Regions from separate parts of the Homo sapiens genome. Here all the other regions are linked to region 1. The links are contacts of gene promoters, found by promoter capture Hi-C in human tissues and cell types (Jung and others, 2019). All regions are on one chromosome and are shown on one strand. The core of a region is centred on a gene start or on the middle of the fragment in contact, and the rest is flanking DNA. Distances in the headings are between cores, read along the strand shown.

The links. Contacts are between HindIII fragments. The study calls those that stand out against the background at their distance.
Region 2: a fragment that was not itself captured here is called in contact with the fragment with the promoter of CCL21 in region 1 in 1 of the 25 tissues and cell types used here (spleen).
Region 3: a fragment that was not itself captured here is called in contact with the fragment with the promoter of CCL21 in region 1 in 1 of the 25 tissues and cell types used here (H1 embryonic stem cells).
Region 4: a contact is called between a fragment that was not itself captured here and the fragment with the promoter of CCL21 in region 1, in 1 of the 25 tissues and cell types used here (H1 embryonic stem cells).
Region 5: a fragment that was not itself captured here is called in contact with the fragment with the promoter of CCL21 in region 1 in 2 of the 25 tissues and cell types used here (H1 embryonic stem cells and hippocampus).
Region 6: a contact is called between a fragment that was not itself captured here and the fragment with the promoter of CCL21 in region 1, in 3 of the 25 tissues and cell types used here (dorsolateral prefrontal cortex, liver and pancreas).

What each region holds. Positions count from the first base shown.
Region 1 is chr9:34,708,347-34,712,265 of GRCh38, forward strand. It overlaps CCL21 (C-C motif chemokine ligand 21), which reads right to left and starts at 1,790. Exons shown (of 4, transcript NM_002989.4): 1 at 1,654-1,790; 2 at 1,431-1,551; 3 at 1,154-1,336; 4 at 659-1,081. The coding sequence starts at 1,720. The coding sequence ends at 1,048. It also overlaps a transcript of PHF24 not described here. The HindIII fragment of the contact is 9,492 bases long and covers 1-3,919 here.
Region 2 is chr9:34,927,795-34,931,713 of GRCh38, forward strand. It overlaps a transcript of PHF24 not described here. Among named protein-coding and RNA genes, the nearest start is that of PHF24, 29 kb to the right of the region's middle. The HindIII fragment of the contact is 4,030 bases long and covers 1-3,637 here.
Region 3 is chr9:34,907,721-34,911,639 of GRCh38, forward strand. It overlaps a transcript of PHF24 not described here. Among named protein-coding and RNA genes, the nearest start is that of SPATA31F3, 14 kb to the left of the region's middle. The HindIII fragment of the contact is 3,933 bases long and covers 1-3,629 here.
Region 4 is chr9:34,890,223-34,894,141 of GRCh38, forward strand. It overlaps SPATA31F3 (SPATA31 subfamily F member 3), which reads right to left. Exons shown (of 5, transcript NM_001309427.2): 4 at 2,824-2,930. It also overlaps a transcript of PHF24 not described here. Among named protein-coding and RNA genes, the nearest start is that of SPATA31F3, 3.6 kb to the right of the region's middle. The HindIII fragment of the contact is 4,006 bases long and covers 1-3,724 here.
Region 5 is chr9:34,870,812-34,874,730 of GRCh38, forward strand. It overlaps a transcript of PHF24 not described here. Among named protein-coding and RNA genes, the nearest start is that of SPATA31F3, 23 kb to the right of the region's middle. RefSeq lists an enhancer at 1-166. The HindIII fragment of the contact is 5,156 bases long and covers 1-3,919 here.
Region 6 is chr9:34,853,032-34,856,950 of GRCh38, forward strand. It overlaps a transcript of PHF24 not described here. Among named protein-coding and RNA genes, the nearest start is that of SPATA31F3, 41 kb to the right of the region's middle. The HindIII fragment of the contact is 5,500 bases long and covers 1-3,919 here.

The DNA.
Region 1 (3,919 bases), core at 540-3,039:
TCCATCTGGAAGGAGGCTGAGTGAGTCCAGGGGCCCAGATAGGAATAGAAGGAGAGCACAACAGCCCCATTAAACAAAGAGGAGAGGTCAAGGCCCGAGCTTCACTGAATAGGGCTGAAGCAAGTCCCCTCGGGTCTTTGCCTCCCAGGGGCTCTCTCAGGGCTGGAACTGTGCTAGGGCAGGTTTCAATATAACTTGTGTTTGTCTGTGTTATAGATGGGCCCAAGCCACAGCTTCCCTCCTAGGGACCCTTCCAAAGAACCACTTGGAGGGTCTCATTGAATAGTTCCCAGGGAAAAGAGAGGAAGCCTCTGGGATATCTGGGGAAAGGTCTGAAGGTCATGGAAAAGATCCGAAGGTCACCCCTGGAGTTAGTGCAGGACAGAATCAGGGTCTCAGAGGTCTGCAGAGCTGTTGGGGGTGTGTGCTCCATGTCCACCACCTCTCCATTGGCAGGATGCCTCAGAAGACTGGGTCCTACCCTGTCCTTCAGCCTCCCTTTAACTGCTCAGGGGTGCAGGCACCTGAGAGGCAAGGAAACTCTTGGGGTAGATGAGAACATAGCATTTTTCAGCCTGAGCTTTCGGCTCAGAGTGTGTGACCCCACCCTGTAGGAACCTTGGCATCTCGGTGGACATAAACACATGGGAACAGGTACTTGGGTGGGAAGACAGAACAGCTTTTTATTCAGTTAGGTATAAATCATATTTACAAGGAAGAGGTGGGGTGTACTGGGGAGCCGTATCAGGTCCAGGGTCCTGATGATTCTCCTTCAAGGGGACAGTCCTGCTGCCTCCTCTCATGCTCCCTGGGAGACTCTCCCTCCTCGGTCTCTCTGGACCTGGCCTGCTGTGGGCAGCTCAGCCATGCAGGGTAGAGCTGGGAATGCAGATGGGGTGGTTAAAGCAGGAGAAAGAGTGTGGCAAGGCCAGCATGGGGTGGCTGCTCCAGGGCCCCTGAGCATAGCCTCCTTCTTGCATCTTGGGTTCAGGCTTCAAGCGCTGGTGAGGCTGGTGGGGTCTCCAGGGCTCCAGGCTGCTCACTGGGCTATGGCCCTTTAGGGGTCTGTGACCGCTCAGTCCTGTGAGGGCAGAAGAGGGGTGTGAGGGGCTGACTGAGGCTCCCCTTTACCCACATCCCTCAGATTCCTCACCTCTTGCAGCCTTTGGAGCCCTTTCCTTTCTTGCCAGTCTTGGAGGCCCCCCTGTCCTTCCTGCAGCCCTGGGCTGGTTTCTGTGGGGATGGTGTCTTGTCCAGATGCTGCATCAGCTGCTGCACCCAGAGCTCCTTTGGGTCTGCACATAGCTCTGCCTGAGAGCGCTTGCGGGGCAAGAACCTGCGGGTGGGGGCTAGTAAGCCTTCTTAGTCTTGCCCACCATGCCCTCCCCACCCCGTCACCAGCCAGTACCCACCCCTTTGTGTCCACTCACAGGATAGCTGGGATGGAGCAGCCTAAGCTTGGTTCCTGCTTCCGGTAGCTGCGGACAACCTTGGCGGGAATCTTCCTTTGGCTGTACTTGAGGCAACAGTCCTGAGCCCCTCCATCACTGCCTGCAGGGTGGGATTCACAGGGAGCCAGGGGCTGCTGGCAAGCTCCTATCCAGGCCTCTTGATCCCCTTAGCCCCATGCAAGGCCCCTCCCTGCCTTGGTACCTTGGGTCCTGGGGATGCCAAAGGCCAGAACCAGGATAAGGAGGCTCAGAGCCAGTGACTGAGCCATGTCTGTGGTAGAGGGTGAGTAAGAGGCCAGAGCTGAGGGTGAGGTGGGCAGCTGCAAGTTGGGGGTCTGTGCGTGGGCTGGGATTGGCCTGCTATTTATGTAGCTAGACACTTTCACTTCCCTTAACTTATCCCCACTCCTTTTCCTTCCTGAAAGCTGGATTTGCTGGCACCCAGCCCCACTTATCTCAAACTAAGTGGACAGTCCTCAGCTGCCAAATTTTATGTCCTCATTAGTTGAATATGTCTGGGCCTGAGCCTTCCTTCTATTCCCAGCTACTGCTTTCATGCAGGCCTCACTGCCTCTCCCCTGGAACACCATGACTGTCTCCTCACTACGCTCCAGGATCCATACCCTTCCCCTCCTTCCAGCAAATCTGATTATTAAATTGTAAGAGTTCTTTTTTTTTTTTTTTTTTTTGAGACAGGGTCTAACTCTGTCACCCAGGCTGGAGTGCAGTGGTTGATCTTGGCTCACTGAAATCTCCGCCTCCTGGGCTCGAGTGATCCTCCTACCTCAACCTCCCCAGGAGCTGGGACTACAGGCAAGCACCACTGCGCCTGGCTGATTTTTCTATTTTTTTTTTGTAGAGACGAGGTTTCACGATGTCTAGCCCAGGCTAGTCTTGAGCTCCTGGGCTCAAATGATCTGCCTGCCTCAGCCTCTTGAGGAGCTGGGACCACAGGCACATGCCACTACGTCCGGCTACTGTTTTCATTTTTCATTTTTATTTTTTCTAGAGATGAGGTCTTGCTATGTTGCCCAGTCTGGTCTTGAACTCCTGGGCTCAAGCGATCCTCCTGCCTTGGCCACCCAAAGTGCTGGAATTATAGGTATGAGCGACTGCACCTGGTCTGTAGCATAACCATTTTGATTCCCCTTTGCTTTCCTTTTCTATATATTTTGTAGTTATTTTCCTAATGGATACCTTGGTGATTATAATTAACATTCTAAACTGATAACAACCTAGTTTGAATAATACCAACTTAGTTTCAATGGTATATAAACATTTTGCTCGTATACATTTTAGTCCCTTCTTTATATTGTTATTGTCACAGATTACATCTTTATACATTGTGTTCCCATTGACATAGATTTATAATTATTGTTTAATGCATTTTCCTTTTAAATTATATAGAAAAAAGTGGGGCTACAAACTAAAAATACAATACTAGCTTTTATCTTTTTTTTTTTTTTTGACACAGGGTCTCGCTTTGTCACCCAGGCTGGAGTGCGGTGGCACAATCTCAGCTCACAGCAGCCTCGACCTCCTGGGCTCAAGTGATCCTTCCACCTCAGTCTCCTGAGTAGTGGGGCCACCATGCCTGGCTAATTTTTGTATTTTTTGTAGACACGAGGTCTCACTATGTTGCCCAGGCTAGTCTCGAACGCCTGACCTCAAGCAATTCACCCGCCTTGGCCTCCCAAAGTAATGGGATTACAAGTGTGAACCAGCATACCTGGCAATGTTGTTACTTTTTTTTTTTTTTTTTTGAGACAGAGTCTCACTCTTTCGCCCAGGCTGGAGTGCAGTGGCGTGATCTTGGCTCACTGCAACCTCCACCCTCCGGGTTCAAGCCATTCTCCTGCCTCAGCCTCCCGAGTAACTGGGATTATGGGCACCTGTCACCACATCCAGCTAATTTTTCTATTTTTTGTAGAGATGGGGTTTCACCATGTTGGCCTGGTTGGTCTCAAACTCCTGACCTCAAATGATCCGCTCACCTTGGCCTCCCAAAGTGCTGGGATTACAGACATGAGCCACTGCGCCCAGCCTGCTATGTTGTTATGTTTATCAGAGATCTTTGTTTCTTTGTGTGGCTGTGAGTTATTATTTTTTGTCCTTTTGTTTCATTCTGAAGGTCTTCCTTTAGCATTTGTTTGTTTGTTTGTTTGTTTTTTCTTTCTCCCGTTAGCTTTTCTTGTGGGCAGGTCTACTATTAATGAACTTCCTAAGTTTTGTTTATCTGGAAATGTCTTATTTCTCCTTAATTCTTGCAGCATAGTTTTGCTGGATATATAGAATTCTTGTTTGACTTTTTTTTTTCTTCAGTCTTTAAATATATCCCCCATTGTCTTTTGGCCTCCCATGGTTTCTGAAATCAGCTGGTAATCTTATTGAGAATCTCTTGTACATAATGAGTTACTTCTCTCTTGCTGCTTTTAAAATCTTTGGGTTTCAACAATTTGACTATAATT
Region 2 (3,919 bases), core at 373-2,872, 220 kb after region 1:
TTAGTTTGTTTATTCATTGTGTTGGGCCTTTCTTGTGGGATAGATGAATACCAGGCATCTCTATCCAGCCATCTTGCCAATGTCACTATTGAAGGATTTTAAGCAGAGGTGTGACTTCATGAAACTTATGTTTTAAAACATTAATGAGTTGGGAGCTGGGGGGAGGTGGGGATAGTTAATGGATATAGAAAAATAGCTAGAATTAATAAGATCTACCTTTGGACCTGCCTGGCCAACATGGTGAAACCTTGCCTCTACTAAAAATACAAAAATTAGCCAGGCATGGTGGAGAGTGCCTGTAATCCCAGCTACTTGGGAGGCTGAGACAGGAGAGTCGCTTGAACCCAGGAGGTGAAGGTTGCAGTAAGCTGAAATCACGCCATTGCACTCCAGCCTGGGCAACAAGAGTGAGACTCTGTCTCAAAAAAAAAAAAAAAAAAATCTACTCTTTGACGGCACAACAGGATGACTATAGCCAATAATAATTGTACATTTAAAAATAACTAAAAGAGTATAATTGGATTGTTTGTAACACAAAGGATAAATACTTAAGGGATAGATACCCCATTCTCCATGATGTGATTATTATGCATTGCTTGCCTGTATCAAAACATCTCATGTACCCCATAAATATATACACCTATATACCCACAAAAATTAAAAATTTTTTTAAAACCCACTAATGAGTCAACAAAGTTTATGCTTCTGCTTTGTGGCAAAAAAGACTCTCCTGAGCTAAACCTTTCCTATCAGGCCAGTCTTTTTTTCATTCTCCCTCCATCTTTTCATGTGTGATAGTCTCTTCCTGGTAAGCATTAATTCAAAGTTCAGCCCTTATAGAATTGTTCTTCCCCTCTCCCTTCTCCTATGGGAGCACAGTGTCTGTATAAGGGAAAGTTTACTGCTCTTCCCTGGGTACAGCTGGTCTATGTGTTGCCATTTTCTGCTGGACTCCAATTGAGATGTATCATCCAGCTTATCTCTAATCCATCCCTGTCCATTAACTTCTGTCCTAGAATCCACTTGGGATGGACAAACAAACACTACCACCAGAACTCTGGAAGCACCAAACTCCATTACTGCTCTCATCTCAGTAGTCCAGGAGTCCCTTGGTCTTGCAGTCCTCTTGGTACCCTGGGGCTACACAGGAACTTTTGAATCGCTTCTAGATACAGACCACTGGGAACCCAGCATGATTTCAGCAGCACTCCCTAGACACTTGCCTTCACAGATGCTGTGCTATAGCCCACTCTTCCCTCCCCCACCTCCATGTCAAACATAGAGCTTCTCTGAGGCTTGTACCCTGTCACCAAGATCAAAGGATCTCAGGTCACCCTTCTCCCTATCTGAATATTTCTATTGCATCATCCCACCTCCATACTCCCACTGTCAATGAAAAGTGCTTCTTTTTATTTCACCTCCTCTGGAGGGAGTTTCCCCTTTATCATATGCTCCTTTTGTTTGTTAGGTGGGGACCATTTTGATGGAATGGCAGCAGGGGAATATGATTGGATTTTTTAAATATGATTTGGGTTAGGGTGTCTGTGAAAAAAATCCACATCAATCTATTATCAAACTATTATCTCCATTTAAATTATTTGCTTATGGTCTGTCTCCACCAGAACAAACTCCACAAGGGTGGGACTCCCTTTTCTGTTCTCTTTACTGCTACATCTCCAGCACCTAGCACAGGGTCTATTACTCAATAAATATTTGTGGGGAAAAAAATGAAGGGATGAGATGAGCAAACTAATGAATGATGAGTGATCTTATTCTATTAGTACTGGGATCTGTTGAAGAATTTAGAGCAGAGGATTAAAGCAATCAGATTTGCAGGTAATCAAATATCGTTAAGCTGTGAGAGTCACCATAAGCAGCAATCTGTATTGTCGCCCCCTACAGCCCCGCCATGTAACAGCTATTAGCTCAAGCACACATACTGCCGTGGGAGAATTCACTGCTGCAAGTATTCAAATTTGTGATCAGCCTCCTGAGAAGAGTTGAAGAGAGATCACAAACCTAAGATGGCCTCCCCGACTCTTCATCCTCTTTTTTCCCCTACTGTTTCTCCCTAACACTGTGGTCCTTTAGTCCCCTGAAGAAGCTTTACATTGTAACCCTTTCAGAGAATTTCAGCGAGATCTGGATACCCAGCCCACTCTGCTATTATATTTGCATTTCATGCTTAATTTGTCTATAACATTACAACTTTTATACTCCTACATTTCTGCTGTTATAATCATAAAGAATACTATTTTGGGGCTTCTCTTTTGCAAGTGAAATTAGCATTTCCACGTAAAATAGAGAAGAAAAATTGTTGATCATCTCCCTAAAATGTCTGGGGCTTCATCCAAGCCTGAAGTTTAATTTCTCAGTGTCTGGGAGGAGCCACTGGTTTGTGCAGGTTTCTCAGTGTACTTAAGTGGTGCCGAGACTCATGCTTCGGGTCTCTTGTGTCGGGGATAACCTGGTTGACTCTTCCTTTGGTAAAAGAGAAGGAACGTGAGATAAGACATCCCATTTGGGTGTGTCTGAAATGATTTATCTCCTGAAATGGTTTACCATCTCTTGTTCCTTAACTTTATGGGATTTCTGACACAAGGGTAGAGTGCAGAAGCCTCTTCACTGAAGGAGGCACCCAGAATCCTGTGGGCCTGGTGTCCTAAATAAAGACAGTGCAGGACTTTGTGGCCAGTGCTCACCTCCAGAGCAGAATCAAGGGATATGTCCGGAAAGGGCTGGAAGGAAGCGAAGGAGCCCCAAATGCATTTTCACAAAGATCAGGGACATTTACTCCTGGTATTTATGAAGATTTCTAGCAATGGTATGACAATTCTTCTTCTCTTATGGAATCTTGCCATTAGGGAATTGATGTTTTTTAGAAGAACAAAGAAGCTAACAAACTTCTCAGATAGGGTCAGGGATGTGGAGAGGAACTAGCCCAGATTACCTTTTCAACATCTTTCAATATTATAACTCCAATTCTAATGTTAAAAAGCTAAATATTGTTCATAAACTTGTTTCAGTGTCTGAAGGGTGAGGAATAAATTGGGAAACTGCATCCCAGTTTGAAACATATGTAGGCGATATGGTCTGGATTTGTGTCCCGGCCCAAATCTCATGTCGAATTGTAATCCCCAATGTTGGAAGTGGAGCCTGGTGGGAGGTGATTGGATCATGGGGTGAAGTTCTCATGAATGGGTTAGCACCATCCCTTCAGTGCTGTTCTCCTGATGGTGAGTGAGTTTTCATGAGATGTGGTTGTTTAAAAGTGTGTGGCACCATAAGAATGGTATAATGAGGCCGAGCGCGGTGGCTCACGCCTGTAATCTCAGCACTTTGGGAGGCTGAGGCGGTGGATCACGAGGTCAGGAGATCCGGACCATCCTGGCTAACATGGTGAAACCCTGTCTCTACTAAAAATACAAAAAATTAGCCGGGCATGGTGGCGGGCTCCTGTAGTCCCAGCTACTCGGGAGGCTGAGGCAGGAGAATGGCATGAACCCGAGAGGCGGAGCTTGCAGTGAGCCGAGATAGTGCCACTGTACTCCAGCCTGGGCAACAGAGCAAGACTCTGTATCAAAAAAAAAAAAAAAAAAAGAATGGTATAATGAACTTGAGGATGCAGGGGGAAGGGTGGAAGGGGGTTGAGGGATAAAAGACTGCATATTAGGTACAGTACACTGCTCAGGTGATGGGTGCACCAAAATTTCAGATATCATCACTAAAGAACTCATCCATGTAACCAAAAATCACCTGTACTCCAAAAACTATTGAAATACAACAAAAATAAAAAATAAATAAAAAATTAAGAAGTGTGTGGCCCCTCCCCCTTCTTTCCCGGTCCTGCTGCGCAAGTGCTTGCTCCTGCTTTGCCTTCCACCATTACTAAAAGCTCCCTGAGGCCTCATGGGAAACA
Region 3 (3,919 bases), core at 413-2,912, 200 kb after region 1:
AATCCTCTTTTTGGATTGTCTTTGTTTAGTTTTTTTTCCCCTTTTTCTTATCCTTCCAGTTTGATTTCTTTCTTCGCTGTAGTTTTGGGGTTTTGTTTTTTGTTTTTTGTTTTGTTGCTTTGTTTTGTTTTGTTTCCCCCAAGATGGAGTCTTGCTCTGTCACCCAGGCTGAAGTGCAGTGGCATGATCTCGGCTCACTGCAACCTCCACCTCCCAGGTTCAAGCAATTCTCCTGCCTCAGCCTCCCGAGTAGCTGGGATTACAGGTGCCCGCCACCACACCTGGCTAATTTTTGTATTTTTAGTAGAGATGGGGCTTCATCATGTTGGTCAGGCTGGTCTCGAACTCCCGACCTCGTGATCTGCCCGCCTCGGCCTCCCAAAGTGCTGGGATTATAGGCGTGAGCTGCCACACCCGGCCTCTTCACAGTAGTTTTCACCTGCTGTAAGTTTTCTCTTCTAGCTTATGGAACTAATACCATACCCCAGAAACAAATGTTTTGTAATTGAGGAAGGGGCACTTCTTGTTGTAAGGATATTTTAGGCTCCATTTAAGGCTTTTGTCTTCACTGCCACTGCCATAGACAATTCATTGATCCCTCAAATTTAAATTGGGTACATTTGTTTATGTGAAAGGCATTGTTATAGTCAAGACGGAAACAGAAAAAAAAATCCCTCTGGGAGCTTTCATTCTAGTGGAAGGAGAGAGAAAGCAAACAAATAGGAAAATATGTAGTATGTTAGATGGTGATAAGTGCAGTGGAGAAAAATAAAGAAGAGACTAAGTCAAGAGTATAAACAAGATTTGTCATTTTTAATAGGTGGCAAGGGGAGGTCTGAGAAGATGATATTGGAGCAAAGACCAGTAGGAGATAAGGGAGCAACTCATGCATGTCTCTGGGAAAAGGGAACAGGAAACATCTATAGGGAGAAGACAGGTAAAGATCCAATAAGACAGTCCCTCAAGCCAGTACACAAGGGGTTGAGGACTTCAGAAAGCCTCCATAGTATGGTGTCCTTTGGACAGACTTTGTCTCGGGTCACCACTTCAAATCCTTATAAGGACTTCTTTCTCAATCTTATTTTATCTTACCTCATCCTTTTTTTCTTTTCTTTTCTTTTCTTTTTTTTTTTTTTTCTTTTTTTGAGACAGAGTCTCACGTCGTCGCCTGGGCTGGAGTGCAGTGGTGCGATCTTGGCTCACTCCAACCTCCACCTCCCAGGTTCAAGCAATTCTCCTGCCTCAGCCTCCCAAGTAGCTGGGATTACAGGGTGCCTGCCACCATGCCCGGCTAATTTTTTGTATTTTTAGTAGAGATGGGGTTTCACCATGTTGGTCAGGCTGGTCTCAAACTCCTGACCTTGTGGTCCACCTGCCTCAGCCTCCCAAAGCGCTGGGATTACAGGTGAGCCACCATGCCCGGCCCCCTTTTTCTCTTTTTTAAGAGATGGGGTCTCACTATGTTGACTAGGCTGGCCTCGAACTCTCAGGCTCAAGCTTCCTAAACAGCTGGGATTGCAAGAGCACACCGCTATACCTGGCTCTTCCCTTATCTTATCTTTGTGTCTTTGGGGACTAATTTGTTTAGTTTTGTCTGCCCAACTTGGGAGGTTTAGCTAGCCTGTCATCAGTGGCAGCCTGGCCTTTGGCCAAGCTCTGGACAAGCACCATCCTATGGACCATTGACATTTCACGTGTTCTGCCTCATCCCAAACTGAGCCTCATCTAGGCCAAATGCTCAATTCCTGTATGGTTTCTCACTATCACATTATCTTGTATGCTTCTCTGTCTGTCACAATTTTACCAGGGACCGTTTGCAATTGCAGCAAACACTTAAGTGAACTATTTACAGAGACTACTTTGTTCTTTTGAGAGGTACCTTAGAACATAAAGAGAAGAAATCCTTTTTTTTTTTTTTTGAGACGGAGTCTCGCTCTGTCGCCCAGGCTGGAGTGCAGTGGCGCGATCTCGGCTCACTGCAAGCTCCGCCTCCCGGGCTCACGCCATTCTCCTGCCTCAGCCTCCCGAGTAGCTGGGACTACAGGCATCCGCCACCATGCCTGGCTAATTTTTTCTGTTTTTTGGTAGAGACGGGGTTTCACTGTGTTAGCTAGGATGGTCTGGATCTCATCTTCTGACCTCGTGATCTGCCCGCCTTAGCCTCCCAAAGTGCTGGGATTACAGGCGTGAGCCACCGCGCCCAGCCGAAGAAATCCTTTTAAGGAGGTTTTTCATCTTGCCTGATTAAGATGGAGTGATTGTTTTGTTTCATGTAGAAGACACCCCTCCTTCATTTCTGTACTTCAGGAGTTAATAAATGCTGGCTTTTAAATTGTATCACTTATAAAATTGTGGAAGGTCAGAGCTACTGTTTCAACCAGCCATAATAACTCTCTGTTGTATGTCTATATGTGAAAATGGGTTTTCCTGCATCTAAGCTTTCTCTCCTCTCCTTGAAGAAGGAATATAATTAGTCTTCTACAGTATTCATATTTGTCTGAAGCCAGTTTTGCCTCTTTTTTTTTGGCTCACCACTATGCTAATGAGGATCTCCTCTCTTTTGTTCTGTTCCTTTCCCTCCTTTTTTCCCCTCTCTTGGAAAACATTAAAAATTAACTTAGAAATAAAAGTCACTCTGTTATTACGTGCATACTCTAGGAATAACTAGTCCAGATAAGCAGCCAAAAATGTCTAAAAGATCTTGAAAATTTCTAAGAGAGTAGATTTTAAGTGTTCTCGCTACATACATACAAAATAAGTATGTGAGGTAGTACAAATGTTAATTAGCTCAAATTAGCCATTTCATAATGTATATTTCAAAACAACATACATGATAAACATATATAATTTGTATTTGTCAATTAAAATATGTAAGTAAATGTTTTTAAAGTCTAAAATCTTTATTAAACTGTTAGGGTTTCTTTTTGTGAACACTTAAAAGTGTATTTACATAGTAGTCTATGTTACTAAGTTATGAGATAAAAAGAAATAGATTTAAAGACTAAGGGGTTTTGTCATGATTCAGAGTCTCTAACTTTTAGTTTACCCTATAGAAAATAATGGCATATTTATCTTTAGATATATATGACTTGTATCTTGTCTTCTTTTTTTTTTTCAATTGAGATAGAGTCTCATTCTGCCACCCAGGCTGGAGTGCAGTGGCAGGAACATAGCTTACTACAGCTTCCATCTCCCAGGCTCAAGCAATCCTTCTGCCTCAGCTTCCCAAATAGCTGGGACTATAGACACACATCATCACACCTGACTAATTTTTTTGATTTTTAGTAAAGACGAGATCTCATTATGTTGCTCAGACTAGTCTTGAACTCCTGAATTCAACTGATCTTCCCACCTTGGCCTCCGAAAGTGCTGGGATTACAGGCATGAGCCACCATGCCCAGCCTATTTTGTCTAATTACTAACTATTCTTGGTTTTGCCTATCTAAAAGTCAGTCAGACTTTTTTTAAAAAAAAACTATAAAGTTGTCTTTTATGAATAAACTATATTTATAGGGTTTTCTTTTCTTTTCTTTTTCTTTTTCTTTTTCTTTTGAGACAGAGTCTCTCTCTGTCACCCAGGCTAGAGTGCAGTGGCATGATCTTGGCTCACTGCAACCTCCACCTCCTGGGTTCAAGCAATTCTCTGCCTCAGCCTCCCAAGTAGCTGGGATTACAGGTGCCCGCCACCACGCCTGGATAATTTTTTGTATTTTTAGTAGAGGCAGGGTTTCACCATCTTGGCCGGCCGGTCTTGAACTCCTGATGTCGTGATCCACCCGCCTCAGCCTCCCAAAGTGCCGGGATTACAGGCGTGAGCCACCGCGCCCGGCCTATGGGGTTTTCTAAAATGGCCATTAGGTACCATGGAGATTTGCTCCTTCAACCCATAAAAGGAAGGACAATAGGAATAGTTAGTTTT
Region 4 (3,919 bases), core at 472-2,971, 180 kb after region 1:
GAAAGGGTGTTCTCTCTGGCTGGGGAGAGCTCCAGTGCTGTCCAGACACCCCCTTCTCTGTGATTTCCAGCTGCTTTGAATGTCATCAAATGTCACTGGGTCAACTGTTTTCTCTGCTGGGGTAGGGACTTGTCCTCACTTTTGCAAAGACCTGGTCTAAGGGGCTTAGGGCCCTCCAGGCTGGGTTGTTCACTCTAGCCTCCAGCTGAACACAAAGTACCTGGGCCTCTGTCATGTCTCCACTGGGTGTGAGATCCCAGAATCCCAGTGGGCATGGGGTACTGCTATGGAACTAGATCACTTGTAGCTCTGCTGCACTGTCTTTAGTTCAACGGCAAGCTGTTCTTTCAGTCCAACCCCTTCTGGATCTGGGGCCCATGGGATGCCTGGTGGGATATGAAGTTTCTGGAGTAATGTTTTCCCTTGGTTTAGCAATCTTTAGACTCCTAAAGGATCCCTGTGTGGAGATATTCTTTGGGATGGTGAAAATTTGTTCCCTGGATTCCCTTGTTTTTATGGGACTTCCCAAATGTATCTCAAGGAATTTATTTTTCAGGTAGAAATTTAGTTTGGCCAAGATGGGTGCCTTGAGTGATTAGGGGCTGTGAGGATCTGTCTGCCTCTCTAGCGGTACCATCTCCATCAGCTTGTGTTTTAGTGCAGAACACTTGTACGTTATCTACACAAGCTTCATTGGTGTTTTGAAAGCATGGCCCAGGACTTACACATTGCTGTTCAGATGAGATTGAGTCAGAGGCTCTGATGGGCTCAATCTGTGATTGTGGATTCGTGAGTGATTGCCTGGGCCACAGCCCTGGAAAGAGCCACATAATAGAGAGCAGGCAGCCCTGACAGAAGGGCCAAAACTTGTCTCAAGTTTCTCAGTGGCTTCCTGGGACAGGGTCTGGGCAGCTCAGGATCATCAGTAACAGCATCTGGCAAGCCCTGTTGCTGCTGATCAAGGCCTGTCAGTATTCAGAGTGTCCTTTCCTGATCTGTGTAGGGGCTGATATGTGTCACTTCCAGGTCCAGGTGTTTGCTTTTCAGAGGACAGGGGCGCCAAGTTGCTTCCCAGGCCTTTGGAATACTGCAGAACCAGTGATTTGTAGTCCCAACAATGGCAGATATGGGCAGGGACAATGCCCTAGCAGATCTTCCCATATTTGTAATCTATGTGGCTCTGCAACATTACCTTGGCCTGAGGAAACAATTGCGGACTGGCCCTCCTGCCACAGTGGATCAGAGAAGGCCACTATTCCCACTAGCTTCTGGTGCTGCATGCTGGGAAGACCCACATAGGTCAGGGCTGTACTGCTCCAGGGCAGGGATTATTGGTCATCAGGTCACAGGATGAACTGGATAGACTGCTGGATCTTTTGGATCAGGTCCCAGCAATGACAAATCAACCCTCTGTTTCAATTGCTCCTGGAGGTGGAATCCTAGCAGCCTCTGGGCATGGTCTAGGAGAATGCTTCCTCCCTCTTGAGGACTGAAATGGACTTCCCCAATCAAAGAGTGTCCTGGATCTAGTGGGAAAGGCTGCAACATGTCTCAGGGCTTACATTGTATGATTTCCTGGATCTACAGAGATCTCTGGACAACAGCTGGCAAACTCCACTGAAGCTGGAGCTGCCTCTACAGCAGGTGCCACTCCAAGGCTTTCACTTAGCCTGAGTCAGATATAGGACATTGATCTGGATTTGTCAATGGTCAGATGGAGAATGTGGGGGAAAAGGTGGGGAAGGAGGGGAGATTTTAATTAGTACAGAGGTGAAGGAGAAATCATTGCAGAGAAAGGGCCAAAGCCTCCCCTGTTTTGGAGATTTCTAAAGTCAGACCAGGGATCTCTAAAGGCAGACAGTAATGTGCAGAAAAGAGAAACCACAGTAAGGTAGCTACAGATGTGGCACATTGAGGCCTCAGTGCATCCTCTAGGCAGTGGACAGAGGCCACTTAGAAGCTGAAAGAGAGGAGAGGGTAGAGCTAGAACCATGGGGTTTGGGATTTGTTCACAGTAATTTTTCTGCTCTGAGTCCATAGTGGATCCTTCAAAAACCCTGAAAGCTTAGGTGAACCAGCTAGCCTCCCATGAAACCCAGAGTCAAAGGGATGGAAGCTCATCTGTTCAGCAGAAGCCTTAGAGATAGCATTCAGAGTGAAAGAAATGGCTGTTTGTCTGTCTGTTTTCCATCCTTTGGAAAATTAGAAGTGGTGTGGTATAAGCTGCCCTGTACAGAACTCCTCCACAGATCTTGGGAGCCCTCAGTTGTGGGAATATGTGCAACAATATCCCACTTGTACTTGAAGATTCCTCAGGACTTTTTGGACATTGCAATAGCAGTTGGAAAGGAATGTAGGGTCATAGGCTGTTGTTGTAGGTTTGGGAGCTCTGGGTTCAGGGAAAGAAAGGGAATCTAGTATTCAAGGGCTGCTGACCTTGGTTCTCCAGGACAAATTTGGAGTTGTTTTTCGTCCTCTCCTGCTGGCTCAGAGGAATTCCAGGCTTCTCAAAGTTTGAAGACAGAGATCCCATGACCTGGGACACAGCTGGGACTTGAGATCTCTGTCCTCGCTGAAAGTGATCAGCCCAGGAATCTTGGACGCTGTCTGCACCAGCTGACCGGGCAGCTGACTGGGTTAAAGATTTCTGATCCATTAATTGTGACAGTGTTGGAGTTACAGATGCCAGTGAAAGCTCTTTGGATTTCGGGGAGCCCAGATCCTGACTATGCTTAAAAGACACACTAGATGTGGACAAAGCCTCTAGGCAAGAGGAGCCCTGTGATGGCCCCAGTGAAGTCAGGGAGATCTGGTTGTTCTCACCTGCCAGCAATTGCTTAATCTCCAGAGCCATAACATTGCAGATTTGGCAGCAGGGGTCTGCACACAGGATTCGCCGCACACTTCCTTCCTGAGGAAGCCAGCCCTGGCTGGGAAGAGAAACATGACAAACATTAATGATGGAGTGACATCTGCCTTCTCGGAAAAGTGTGGGCCGGGGTTGGCATTGTCCTTTCCCAGTCCTGAAAATCCTGGAGCCTACACTCTCTTGTTGTCTACCTCCCTGTTTTTCTTCCTAAGAAAATGCTATTTGGAGGCTGGACATAGTGGCTCATGCCTCTAATCCTAGCACTTTGGGAGGCTGAGGTGGATGGATCACCTGAGGTCAGGAGTTCGAGATCAGCCTGGCCAACATGGTGAAACCCCGTCTCTACTAAAAATACAAAAATTAGCCAGGCATGGTGGCGTATGCCTGTAGTCCCAGCTACTTGGGAGGCAGAGGTAGGAGAGTCCCTTGAACCTGGGAGACGGAGCTTGCAGTGAGCCGAGATTGTGCCGTTGTACTCCAGCCTGGGCAACAAGAGTGAAACTCTGTCTCAAAAAAAAAAAAGAAAAAAGAAAAGAAAAAGAAAAAGCCATTTGGCAAGGTGGGCTGGGCTGACGATCTAGAGCTTGTTGGGCAAGGCTTCAGACGACCCATGGGAGGGCGTGGCCCTCAGAGAAGGCTGGGAGCTGGGGTCAGTTCTCTGTTGACCTTGTTGAAAAGCTGAACTAGGAGAACGGAGCCAGGCGGTTAGCTGATGGGGCATCACCAGTTAGAACCCGGATCAGTCTCATTTGAGGCTAAGAAACCCAAAGCCCGGTATTTGGGCTTGAAGTTCATGTAGGACCTCTGCATTCTGAGAGCTATTTGGTATCCCTGCTGATATACTCAATATCTTTTGGGAATCAATCCTGTTCTCTAGAAATCTTAAGAAGAGGATAAGATGATAGGCTGCCATCTGAGGGCTGTCTCCCTAATGACAGAGCCAGAGGAGGTAATGTCAGCAGAATCCAGTCAGACTCAGAGGAGAGGGAATAAAGAGAATAAGACAGGGATGACTTCTTTACGCAAAATCCATTCCTCTTGACTGGATAG
Region 5 (3,919 bases), core at 604-3,103, 160 kb after region 1:
CAATATTGCATTGTATGGACATACTAAAGTTTATTCATCTATAGAAAGACATCTTGGTTGCTTCCAAGTTTTGGAAATCATGAGTAAAGCTGTTATAAACATCCATGTGGTTTTTGTGTGGCTATAAGTTTTCAATTCATTTGGATAAATACAAAGAAGCTCACTTGCTGGATCATATGGCAAGAATATATTTAGGTTTATAAGAAATTACCAGCCTGTTTTCCAAAGTGTTTGTGCTATTTTCCTACCAGCAATGAACGAGAGTGCCTGTTGCTTCCACATCCTTGCCAGCATTTGCTATTGTCAATGTTTTGGATTTTGGCCATTTTAATAGCTATGTAATCTTGTCTTGTTGTTTTAATTTGCAGTTCCCTAAGGACATATGGTGTGGAACATCTTTTCACATGTTTACTTGCCATCTGTATACCTTCTTTGGTGAGGAGTCCAAGTCTTTTGCCCATTTTTAAATTCAGTTCTTATTTTATTATTGTCGAGTTTTAAGAGTGCTTTGTATACTTTGGATAGCAGTCCTTTACCAGATGTGTATTTTGCAAATATTTTCTTCCAGTATGTGGTGTGTCTTCTCATTCTTTTGACATTGTCTTTCAGAGAGAAGACTTTTTTCATTTTAATGACGTCCAGCTTATCAATTATTTCTTTCACAGATCATGACTTTGATGTTATACCTAAAAAGTCATCATCATACCCAAGGTCCATTAGGTTTTCTCCTATGTTATCTTTTGGGGTTTTTTAGGTTTCTGTTTTATGTTTAGGTCTATGATCCATTTTGAATTAAGTTTTGTAAAGGATGTAAGGTCTGTGTCTAGGTTCATTTTTGCATATTGATGTTCAGTTGTTCCAGCACCATTTTCTCCTTTGTCAAAGATCAGTTATATTTCTGTGGATCTGTTTCTGGGCTCTCTATTCTGTTCCATTGATTTATGTGTTCTTCACCACTACCACACCGTCTTGATTACTGTGGCTTTATAATAAGTCTTGAAGTTGAGTAGTATCAGTCCTCCAACCTTGGTCTTCTCCTTCCATGTTGAGATAGTCTTTTACCTCTCCATCTAAACTTTAGAAGCAATTTGTCATTATCCATAAAATAGCTGCTGGAATTTTTATTGGGATTGCATCAAAGCTGTAGATCAAGTTGTGAAGAACTGAGATCTTGACAATATTGTCTTCCTATTCATGAATGTTGAATATCTTTCCATTTATTTAGTTCTTCCTTGATATCTTTCATCAGGGTTTTGCATATGTATATATTTATTTGTTTTCCTCATAAAGATCTGGTACATAGTTTGTTAGGTTTATACCTATGTATTTCTTTTTTCCTTTTGAGTGCCAATGTAAACAGCAATTTATTTTTATTTTTATTATTTTTTTATTTTTTATTTTTTTATTATTATACTTTAAGTTTTAGGGTACATGTGCACATTGTGCAGGTTAGTTACATATGTATACATGTGCCATGCTGGTGCGCTGCACCCACTAACTCTTCATCTAGCATTAGGTATATCTCCCAATGCTATCCCTCCCCCCTCCCCCCACCCCACAACAGTCCCCAGAGTGTGATATTCCCCTTCCTGTGTCCATGTGATCTCATTGTTCAGTTCCCACCTATGAGTGAGAATATGCGGTGTCTGGTTTTTTGTTCTTGCGATAGTTTACTGAGAATGATGATTCCCAATTTCACCCATGTCCCTACAAAGGACATGAACTCATCATTTTTTATGGCTGCATAGTATTCCATGGTGTATATGTGCCACATTTTCTTAATCCAGTCTATCATTGTTGGACATTTGGGTTGGTTCCAAGTCTTTGCTATCGTGAATAATGCCGCAATAAACATACGTGTGCATGTGTCTTTATAGCAGCATGATGTATAATCCTTTGGGTATATACCCAGTAATGGGATGGCTGGCTCAAATGGTATTTCCAGTTCTAGATCCCTGAGGAATCGCCACACTGACTTCCACAATGGTTGAACTAGTTTACAGTCCCACCAACAGTGTAAAAGTGTTCCTATTTCTCCACATCCTCTCCAGCACCTGTTGTTTCCTGACTTTTTAATGATTGCCATTCTAACTGGTGTGAGATGGTATCTCATTGTGGTTTTGATTTGCATTTCTCTGATGGCCAGTGATGAGCATTTTTTCATGTGTTTTTTGGCTGCATAAATGTCTTCTTTTGAGAAGTGTCTGTTCATGTCCTTTGCCCACTTTTTGATGGGGTTGTTTGTTTTTTTCTTGTAAATTTGTTTGAGTTCATTGTAGATTCTGGATATTAGCCCTTTGTCAGATGAGTAGGTTGTGAAAATTTTCTCCCATTCTGTAGGTTGCCTGTTCACTCTGATGGTAGTTTCTTTTGCTGTGCAGAAGCTCTTTAGTTTAATTAGATCCCATTTGTCAATTTTGGCTTTTGTTGCCTTTGCTTTTGGTGTTTTAGACATGAAGTCCTTGCCCATGCCTATGTCCTGAATGGTATTGCCTAGGTTTTCTTCTAGGGTTTTTATGGTTTTAGGTCTAACATGTAAGTCTTTAATCCATCTTGAATTAATTTTTGTATAAGGTGTAAGGAAGAGATCCAGTTTCAGCTTTCTACATATGGCTAGCCAGTTTTCCCAGCACCATCTATTAAATAGGGAATCCTTTCCCCATTTCTTGTTTTTGTCAGGTTTGTCAAAGATCAGATGGTTGTAGATATGCGGCATTATTTCTGAGGGCTCTGTTCTGTTCCATTGATCTATATCTCTGTTTTGGTAACAGTACCATGCTGTTTTGGTTACTGTAGCCTTGTAGTATAGTTTGAAGTCAGGTAGCGTGATGCCTCCAGCTTTGTTCTTTTGGCTTAGGATTGACTTGGTGGTGTGGGCTCTTTTTTGGTTCCATATGAACTTTAAAGTAGTTTTTTCCAATTCTGTGAAGAAAGTCATTGGTAGCTTGATGGGGATGGCATTGAATCTATAAATTACCTTGGGCAGTATGGCCATTTTCATGATATTGATTCTTCCTACCCATGAGCATGGAATGTTCTTCCATTTGTTTGTATCCTCTTTTATTTCATTGAGCAGTGGTTTGTAGTTCTCCTTGAAGAGGTCCTTCACATCTGGTTGGATTCCTAGGTATTTTATTCTCTTTGAAGCAATTGTGAATGGAAGTTCACTCATGATTTGGCTGTTTGTCTGTTACTGGTGTATAAGAATGCTTGTGATTTTTGCACATTGATTTTGTATCCTGAGACTTTGCTGAAGTTGCTTATCAGCTTAAGGAGATTTTGGGCTGAGACAATGGGGTTTTCTAGATATACAATCATGTCATCTGCAAACAGGGACAATTGGACTTCCTCTTTTCCTAATTGAATACCCTTTATTTCCTTCTCCTGCCTAATTGCCCTGGCCAGCACTTCCAACATTATGTTGAATAGGAATGGTGAGAGAGGGCATCCCTGTCTTGTGCCGGTTTTCAAAGGGAATCCTTCCAGTTTTTGCCCATTCAGTATGCAGAAAAGGCCTTTGACAAAATTCAACAACCTTTCATGCTAAAAACTCTCAATAAATTAGGTATTAATGGGACGTATCTCAAAATAACAAGGGATATGCTTTTTCAATCCACTCGTTTCTCACCTCTTTCTGGAGTTTCTTATATGTACCCCACTGCCTGCCCAGGATCTAACCAATTCACCATTTGAGATTTGTTGCTCCAGACATTTTGTTCCTGTTGGATTGACTCTGTTTTTTTCTCTTTGTTATAGCATGAGTATATCACAAGTTATTTAGTAATTCCCCTAATAGGGGGAATTACTAAATAAGTTGTTTCTGCCTCTTAATCACCATAAACAATGCTCCAACAAACATTCATTTAGATATGCCTGCAGGTCAGAAAGGATCAGCCTCTCACATAGCACAGGGTTTTAT
Region 6 (3,919 bases), core at 591-3,090, 140 kb after region 1:
CTTGTGCTGGTTTTCAAAGGGAATGCTTCCAGCTTTTGCCCATTCAGCCTAATATTGGCTGTGGGTTTGTCATATATGGCTGTTATTATTTTGAGGTATGTTCCTTCAGTACCTAGTTTATTGAGAGTTTTTAACATGAAGAGATGTTGAATTTTATCAAAGGCCTTTTCTGCATCTGTTGAGATAATCATGTGATTTTTGTCTTTAGTTCTGTTTATGTGATGAATTAAATTTATTAATTTGTGTATTTTGAACTGACCTTGCATCCTGGGGATGAAGCCAACATGACCATGGTGGATAAGCTTTTTGATGTGCTGCTGGATTTGGCTTGCCAGTATCTTATTAAGGATTTTTGCGTTGACGTTCATTGGGGATATTGGCCTAAAGTTTTCTTTTTTTGTTTTGTCTCTGCCAGGTTTTGGTATCAGGATGGTGATGGCCTCATAAAACGAGTTAGGGAGGAGTCCCTTCTTTTCAATTGTTTGGAATAGATTCAATAGAAATGGCACCAGCTCGGCCGGGCGCGGTGGCTCACGCCTGTAATCCCAGCACTTTGGGAGGCCGAGGTGGGCGGATCACGAGGTCAGGAGATCGAGACCATCCCAGCTAAAACGGTGAAACCCCGTCTCTACTAAAAATACAAAAAATTAGCCGGGCGTAGTGGCGGGTGCCTGTAGTCCCAGCTACTTGGGAGGCTGAGGCAGGAGAATGGCGTGAACCCGGGAGGTGGAGCTTGCAGTGAGCCGAGATCCCGCCACTGCACTCCAGCCTGGGTGACAGAGCGAGACTCCGTCTCAAAAAAAAAAAAAAAAAAAGAAATGGCACCAGCTCTTCTTTGTACCTCTGGTAGGATTCAGCTGTAAATCTGTCTGGTCCTGAGCTTTTTTGGTTGCTAGGCTATTTGTTACTGCCTCAATTTTAGAACTTGTTATTGGTCTTTTTAGGGATTCAGTTTCCTCCTAATTTAGTCTTGGGAGGCTGTATGTGTCCAGGAATTTATCCATTTCTTCTAGATCTTCTAGTTTATGTGCATAGAGGTGTTTATAGTATTCTCTGATGGTTGTTTGTATTTCTGTGGGGTCAGTGGTGATATCTCCTTTATCATTTCTGATTGTGTCTATTTGGTTCTCTCTTTTCTTTATTAGTCTAGCTAGCAGTCTATCTATTTTTTTTTTTTTTTCAAAAAAAATCAGCTTCCAGATTCGTTGCTTTTTTGAAGAGTTTTTTTGTGTCTCTGTCTCCTTCAGTTCTTTTCTGATCTTGGTTATTTCTTGTCTTCTGCTAGCTTTGGGATTTGTTTGCTCTTGGTTCTCTAGTTCTTTTAGTTGTTATGCTAGGTTGTTGATTTGAGATCTTTCTAGCTTTTTGATGTGGGCATTTAGTACTATAAATTTCCCTCTTAACACTGCTTTAGCTGTGTCCCAGAGATTCTGGTACATTGTTTCTTTGTTCTCATTAGTTTCAAAAATAACTTCTTGATTTTTGCCTTAATTTCATTATTTACCTACGAATCATTCAGGAGCAGGTTGTCAATTTCCATGAAGTTGTGTGGCTTTGAGTGAGTTTCTTAAACTTGAGTTCTAATTTTATTATGCTGTAGTATGGGAGACTGTTTGTTATTATGTCAGTTATTTTGCATTTGCTGAGAAGTATTTTTCTTCTAATTATGTTTTCAATTTTAGAGTAGGTGCCATGTGGCAATGAGAAGAATATATATCCTGTCATTTTTGGGTAAAGAGTTCTGTAGATATCGATCAGGTCCACTTTATCCAAAGCTGAGTTCAGGTCCTGAATATCTTTGTTAATTTTCTGTCTTGATGATCGGTCTAATATTGTCAGTGGGATGTTAAAATCTCCCACTATTATTGTGTGGGAGTCTAAGTCTCTTTGAAGGTCTCTAAGAACTTGTTTTGTGAATTTGAGTGCTCCTGTATTGGTGTATGTATATTTAGGATAGTTAGCTCTTCTTGTTGAATTGAATGCTTTACCATATGTAATACCCTTCTTTGGCTTTTTTGATCTTTGTTGGTTTAAAGTCTGTTTTGTCAGAAACTAGGATTATGACCCTGGTTTTTTCTGTTTTCCATTTGCTTGGTAAAATTTCCCCCATCCTTTTATTTTGAGCCTATGTGTGTCTTTGCACATTAGATGGGTCTCTTGAAGACAGCATACCAATGGGGCTTGGCTCTTTATCCAGCTTGCCATTCTGTATCTTTTAATTGGGGCATTTAACCCATTTACATTTAAGATTAACATTGTTATGTGTGAATTTGATCCTGTCATCATGATGCTAGCTAGTTATTTTGCAGACTTGTTTGTGTGGTTGCTTAATAGTGTCATTGATCTGTGTACTTCAGTGTGCTTCTTTAGTGGCTGGTAACAGTTTTTCCTTTCCCTATGTAGTGCTTATTTCAAGAGCTCTTGCAAGGCAGGCCTGGTGGTGACGAATTCCCTTAACATTTGCTTGTCCTGAAAAGGATCTTATTTCTCCTTTGCTTATGAAGCTTAGTTTGGCTGGATATTAAATTCTGGGTTAGAAATTCTTTTCTTTAAGAATGTTGAATATTGGCCCCCAATCTCTTCTGGCTTATAGTGTTTCCACTGAGAGGTCCACTGTTAGCCTGGTGGACTTCCTTTGTAGATGACCTGGCCTTTCCTTCTGGCTGCTCTTAGCATTTTTTCTTTCATTTAAACCCTGGAGAATCTGATGATTATGTGTCTTGGGGTTGATCTTGTGGAGTATCTTACTGGGGTTCTCTGGACTTCCTGAATTTGAATGTTGGCCTGTCTTGCTAAGTTGGGGAAGTTCTCCTGGATGATATCCTGAAGCATGTTTTCTGACTTGTTTTCCTTCTCCTTGTCTCTTTCAGGTACCCTAATCAGTCATAGGTTCAGTCTTTTTACATAATCCCATATTTCTCAGAGATTTCATACATTCCTTTTCATTCTTTTTCTCTATTCTTGTCTGCCTGTCTTATTTCAGAAAGATAGTCTTCAAACTCTGAGATTCTTTCCTCTGCTTGATCTATTCTGCTGTTGATATTTGTGATTGCATTATGAAGTTCTTGTGTTGTGTTTTTTAGCTCTATCAGGTCAGCTATGTTTCTCTCTAAGCTGGATATTCTGGTTATCAGTTCCTGTATTGTTTTACCATGATTCTTAGCTTCTTTGTATTGGGTTGGAACATGCTTCTTTAGCCCAGTGAAGTTCATCATTACCCACCTTCTGAAGCCTACTTCTGTCATTTCAGCCTTCTCAGCCTCAGCCTAGTTCTGTGCCCTTGCTGGAGAGGTGTTGTGATCATTTGGAGAAGAGGCACTCTATCTTTTTGAGTTTTCAGTATTTTTGTGTTGATTCTTTCTCATCTTTGTGGGCTAATCTACATTCAGTCTTTGAGTTTGCTGACCTTTAAGTGGGATTATTGTGGGGTCTTCTTGTTGATGTTATTGTTGTTGTTGCTTTCTGTTTGTTTTTCTTTTAACAGTCAGGCCACTCTTCTGTAGGGCTGCTATGGTTTGCTGGGTGTGCACTCCAGACCCCAGTTGCCTTGGTCCCTCCTGCACCTAGAGGTATTACCAGTTAAGGCTGCAAAACAGCAAAGATGGCAGCCTGCTTCTTCCTCTAGGAGCTCCGTCCCAGGGGGGCACCAACCTAATGCCAGCCAGAATGCTCCTGTAGGAGGTGTCTGGAGACCCCTGTTGGGAGGTCTCACCCAGTCAGGAGGAATGGGATCAGGGACCTGCTTAAAGAAGCAGTCTGGCTGCCCCTTGGCAGAGCAGGTGTGCTGCACTGACTGCCTGGACTCTCCAGAGCCAGCAGGCTGTAAAGAATAAGTTGGCTGAACCACAAAGACAGTGGCTGCCCCTCCCGATGGGGACTCTATCCCAGGGAGAGATCAGAGTTCTGTACATATAGCCCT